2 separate regions of the Homo sapiens genome follow, and region 2 is linked to region 1. Evidence: promoter capture Hi-C in human tissues and cell types (Jung and others, 2019). All regions are on one chromosome and are shown on one strand. The core of a region is centred on a gene start or on the middle of the fragment in contact, and the rest is flanking DNA. Distances in the headings are between cores, read along the strand shown. Region 1 holds the start of CWH43 (cell wall biogenesis 43 C-terminal homolog). Region 2 overlaps CWH43 (cell wall biogenesis 43 C-terminal homolog).

Evidence for each region. The method cuts DNA at HindIII sites, captures the fragments that hold promoters and counts their contacts. A contact is called where the count stands out against the background at its distance.
Region 2: a contact is called between a fragment that was not itself captured here and the fragment with the promoter of CWH43 in region 1, in 4 of the 25 tissues and cell types used here (lymphoblastoid cells, mesenchymal stem cells, spleen and 1 more).

Annotation. Positions count from the first base shown.
Region 1 is chr4:48,984,836-48,987,535 of GRCh38, reverse strand. It overlaps CWH43 (cell wall biogenesis 43 C-terminal homolog), which reads right to left and starts at 1,261. Exons shown (of 16, transcript NM_025087.3): 1 at 1,064-1,261. The coding sequence starts at 1,106. The HindIII fragment of the contact is 14,941 bases long and covers 1-2,700 here.
Region 2 is chr4:49,053,302-49,056,136 of GRCh38, reverse strand. All of the region lies in intron 15 of CWH43 (cell wall biogenesis 43 C-terminal homolog), which reads right to left. Among named protein-coding and RNA genes, the nearest start is that of CWH43, 68 kb to the right of the region's middle. The HindIII fragment of the contact is 4,445 bases long and covers 1-2,835 here.

The DNA of each region.
Region 1 (2,700 bases), core at 12-2,511:
CACTGAGACTCAGAAAGTTAAGTGAGTACCTAAGGTTACACAAGTAGCAAATGTCAGAGTTGCCCTAACTCTAAGCAGCCTGGCTCCAAAGGTAGCCGGTCTAACCACTGGGCGTGGGAACTTTCTACCAACTGACTTTCCAACCTCCCCTTCTTAATCAGCAAAATAGGACTTTCAACCCCTTCACAGTGTTGTTGGGAGGATTAAATGAGATCAAGTGCACTGAGTACCTAGCACCTGAGGTACTTATTGAATGCTAGGCACTGTACATCTCCCAACTTATAGATACAGGCTGAGCCAGAAAAAAATAGTCTGAAGCACTCCCGAGAATTACCAGCTCCCAGAAAATCAAGTTCTCAGGAAGGCGCCCCACCCAGACCAGAGGGATCTTTGTTTTGTAACGAACCGGGGATTCTAGCAATATCCCAAATGTTTGTCTGGGAACTTTGATTTTATTACTCACACAGCTCCGACAGAATTACACCAATAAAATTGTCCTCGGGATTTTGCAAAGCTGGTGAGAGAGCAGATGAGACTCGAGTCTGATGCTTTTCGCCAAATGCCCAAGTGTGCAGCCGACACCAAGGCCACTTGTCCTGGGCCCAGCCCACGGCAGCAGCTGCCGCCCAGTGTCCACCTACAGCTCCTGGGGAAAACGGGTGCCCCTTTCCTTCTGAATTTTAAAGTTCAGCACTGAACTGTATTAAGTTAAACTTAAAGGCCACGGGTGGGGGGCTTTGGGGACGGTACCGGCCGCGCGGGGTCAAGGCCGACACGAGGAGAATTCGCGCTCCTTGGGCACAATCCCAGGGCTGCTGGGAACTCGGGCGACGGGGTCTCTCGCGGGCGCCTCGCAGACTCAGCTTGAAGACTTCAATCTAGGTCTTTTCCTTTATTCCCTTCAGTAGGAAAAGTTCCCAGGGGACGATAAGCATCTCCACTCTGGGCACGGAGCGCCCTTTTCCTCCTACCTGAACTCAGCCAACCTGGCCTGGCTCCACGGCTCTGGACATGGCCCGGGGAGCTGGCACCCGCGAACTCGCGGCGAGGGGCTTCGGCTTACCCAGCAGCGACTCCAAGAGGATTTCTCTCCACAGCGAGGGCATCGCCGCGGCGAGGGGCAGCGCTTTCCAGGAAAGCCGTGCGGGTCGGGCCCGCTGCCCTAGCCCTGCGCCCCCAGGTTCCCGCCGCCGCGTCCTCCCGGGCCTGCGTCCGCGCCCCTCGTTCCCGCGTCCCGTTGCCAAGTGAGCCCCAGCCAACTGACCCACTTGCCGAACCGAGGCAGTGTGGGGCCGGTCCGCCCGCCCCTTCACGACCACACCCAGCCTCGCCTGCCAGAGCCTGGCCAGGCCGGGCGCCACCTGTGCGCGTTGCGCCGCCTCCGGCGCCTCTGGTCCCCGCCTTTGCCTCCTTGGCGCGAGCCCCAGCGGCACCCTTGGCCGGTGCAGGGGACATGCGTCTCGGCTCTGACTCTGCTATTGGGCCCGAACCCGAAGCAACCCCGGGGATGCAGCGCTGCCAGAGCCCAGGAGGGAGCGAACAAGTGCAACTCCGGACCAGTGGTGCCCTCGTTTAGACTAGGCCCACGGGGTGCTCTGCGAGGAGAAGGCAGAGAGGAAGGACCGCTGGAGACCCAGATGGGGACCCTGGAGGAGCAGGTCCTGTGCACCAGCTCCAGCGCCCTGGAAGCCTTAGGGGACCACGGGGCGCGAACCCGACTGTGGCGATCTTCAGGCCAGGGCGACGCATCGGAAGCGTGCCGGCAGGGCCAGGGCCACTGCTGGGCCACTCTCAGCTTTGATAGTAAAAGTGCAATTTGTTAATTGCCTCCTAGCAAAGGGGCCCAAAATTCCAGCGGCTGCAAGATATTCTCAGGGGAGAGAAAGTAACTGATGCGAGTGGAAACCCGGCCCTCCCCTAGTTTATGAATAATGATATTTGAGAGTGCTTATCCCTAAAAAGAAGGTGGGAGACGTTCTGATTAATGTGGAGAGTGAACTAGGCCAGCTATTTCTCGCTCAAATGTATCACACTCCTGGATGTCTTGAACTTGTTTAAGAACCCCTGAAAGCAATTTATTTTAATGCACTTTAATTTCTTAAGGAGAGCTTATTATTTATCAGTTCCAGAAAGTTTGCTCTGAAATTAAACAATGATGGCATGCCCAAAAAGTATTAGAATCACATTAGCAGCAATCATTGCTATTAAGTCCATAGGAGTATTGAGCAAAGAGTTTTTTTCTGTTTTGTTGTGTTTGAGACGGAGTCCTGCTCTGTAGCCCAGGCTGGAGGGCGGTGGCATAATCTCGGCTCACTGCAACCTCCGCCTCCTGGGTTCAAGCGATTCTCCTGCCTCAGCCTCTCGCGCAGCTGGGACTACAGGCACGTGCCACCACACCCAGGTAATTTTTGTATTTTTAGTAAAGACGGGGTTTCACCATATTGGCCAGGCTGGTCTCAAACTCCTGACCTCATGATCCGCCCTCCTCGGCCGCCCAAAGTGCTGGGATTACCAGCGTGAGCCACCGCGCCTGACCAAGTAAACAGTTCTTAATCGGTTAATTACTAGCTCTCTCAATCTCAAGGGTAGATACATAGATTAATGGAATAGAAGTGAGAGACTGGAGATAAAAACCCCCTTTTAGGGTCAAATGAGTTTCACAAACTTGCCAAGACAATTCCACAGGGAAGAGTCTTTTCA
Region 2 (2,835 bases), core at 35-2,534, 69 kb before region 1:
TTGAACAATGAGATCACATGGACACAGGAAGGGGAATATCACACTCTGGGGACTGTGGTGGGGTCGGGGGAGGGGGGAGGGATAGCATTGGGAGATATACCTAATGCTAGATGACACAGTAGTGGGTGCAGCGCACCAGCATGGCACATGTATACATATGTAACTAACCTGCACAATGTGCACATGTACCCTAAAACTTAGAGTATAATAAAAAAAAAAAAAAGAAAAAAAGAAAAATTAGATTGACCATAGTGGCTCATGCCTGTAATCCCAGCACCTTGGGAGGCCAAGGCAGGCAGATCACCTGAGGTCAGGAGTTCAAGACCAAAGACCAGCCTGGCCAACATGGCGAAACCCTATCTCTACCAAAAGTACAAAAATTAGCTGGGTGTGGTGGTAGGCGCCTATAATCGCAGCTACTCAGGAGGCTGAGGCAGGAGAATTGCTTCAACCTGGGAGGTGGAAGTTGCAGTAAGCTGAGATCGTGCCATTGCATTCCAGCATGGGTGACAAGAGTGAGACTCTATCTCAAAAAAAAAAAAAAATGAAAGAAAAATTAATGCCCATCCTTCTCAAACTCTTTCATAATTGAAGAGGAGGGAACACCTGCAAATTCAGTTTATGAGGCCATTATTAGCCTGATACCAAAGCCAGACAAGGATGCTACAAGAAAATGATAAGCCAATATCCCTAATGAACACACATGTAGAAAATCCTTAACAAAATACCTGCAAACTGAATTCAACAGTACCTTAAAAGGATCATACACCCTGATCAAGGGGGATTTTTCCTTGGGATGCAAGGATAGTTAAATATATGCAAATCAATAAATATGATACAATGTATTAACAGGGTAAAAGACAAAAATCATATGATCATCTCAATAGATGCAGAAAAAGCATCTGAAAAATTCAACATCTTTTCATGATAAAAACTCTCAACAAATTAGGCATAGCAGAAATAGACCTCATCATAACAAAGGCCATATATGACAACCCACAGCTAACATCATACTCAGTGATTAAAAGTTGAAAGCTTTTTCTCTGGGATCAGGATCAAGAGAAGGATGCCCACTCTCAGCACTTCTATTCAACACAGTACTGAAAGTCCTAGCTAGAGCAATTAAGCAAGTAAAAGGAATAAAATACATCTAAATTGGAAAGGAAAAAGTTAAATTGTCCCTATTTGCAGGTGACATGATTATATATATATATATATCCCTAAAAACTCCACTGAAAAAAACTGAAAAACTGTTAGAATTAATAAATTCAGTAAATTTGCAGGATACAAAAGCGGCATACAAAAATCAGTAGCATTTCTATGTACTACCAATGAACTATCTGAAAAAGAAATCAAGAAAACAATCCCATTTACAATAGCATCAAAAAATACTTAGGAATAAATTTAACCAAGGAGGTGAAACACCTGTACACTGAAAACCACAAAATAATGATGAAAGAAATTGAAGACCACAAATTAATGGAAACACATCTGGTGTTCATGAATTGGAATAATCAATATTGTTAAAATATTCATACTACCAAAAGCAATCTGCAGATTCAATGTAATCCTTATCAAAATTCCAATGACATTTTTCACAGGAATAGAAAAATCAACCCTAAAATTTGTATAAGACCACAAAACACCTCAAGCAGCCTAAGCAATCACGAGCAAAAAGAACAAAGCTGGAGGCATCACGCTACCAGATTCCAAAATACACTACAAACCTGTAGTAATTAAAACAGTATGGTACTGGCATAAAAACAGATATATAGATCAATAGAACAGAATAGAGAGCCTAGAAATAAATCCACACATTTACAGTCAATTGATCTTTGACAAAGGTACCCCAAACACACAATGGGGAAAGGACAACCTTTTCAATAAGCAATGTTGGGGGAACTGGGTATCCACATGCAGAAGACTGAAATTGGACTCTTACCTCATACCATATACAAAAATCAACTCAAAATAGATTAAAGATTTTTGGGCTTGAAACTGTGAAACTACTAGAAGAAAACATCAAGAAAAACCTTCAACATTGGTCTGGGCAATGATTTTTTAAATATGATCCCTAAAGCACAGGAAACAATAGCAAAAATAGACAAATGGGATTCTATCGAACTAACAAGCTTCTATATAGCAAAGAAAACAATCAACAGACTGAAGAGACAACCTATGGGATGAGAGAATATATTTACAAACTATATAGGTTGAGTATTCTTTATCCAAAATCACTGGGACCAGAAGTATTTCAGATTTTGGATTCATTTTTGGAATATTTGCATTATACTTACTGTTTGAGCATCCCAAATCCAAAAGTACAAAATCTGAAATGCCCCAAGCATTTCCTTAGAGCACTGTGTCAGTGCTCAAAAAGTTTTGAATTTTGGAGCATTTCAGATTTTGGATTTTTTTACTTGAGATGTTCAACCTATATATGATAAACGGCTAATATCCAAAACATATAGGGAACTCAAAAAACTTAATAGCAAGAAAGCAAACTGATTTTTTTAAATGAGCAAAGGACATGAAAAATATTTCTCAAAAGAAGACATCCAAGTGGCCAGCTAGTATGTGAAGAAATGCTCATCACTAATCAAAGAAATACAAATTAAAAGCGCAATGAGACATTACCTCACACCTGTTAAAATGGCTAGTACCAAAAAGGCAAAAGACAGCAAATGCTGGCAGGAGATGTACAGCAAAAGGAACCCTTGTTCACTGTTGTGGGAATGTAAATTAGTATAGCCATATTATGGAAAACATTACCAAAGTTCCTTTAAAAATTAAAAATAGAACTACCATATGATCCAGCAATCCCACTTCTTGGTA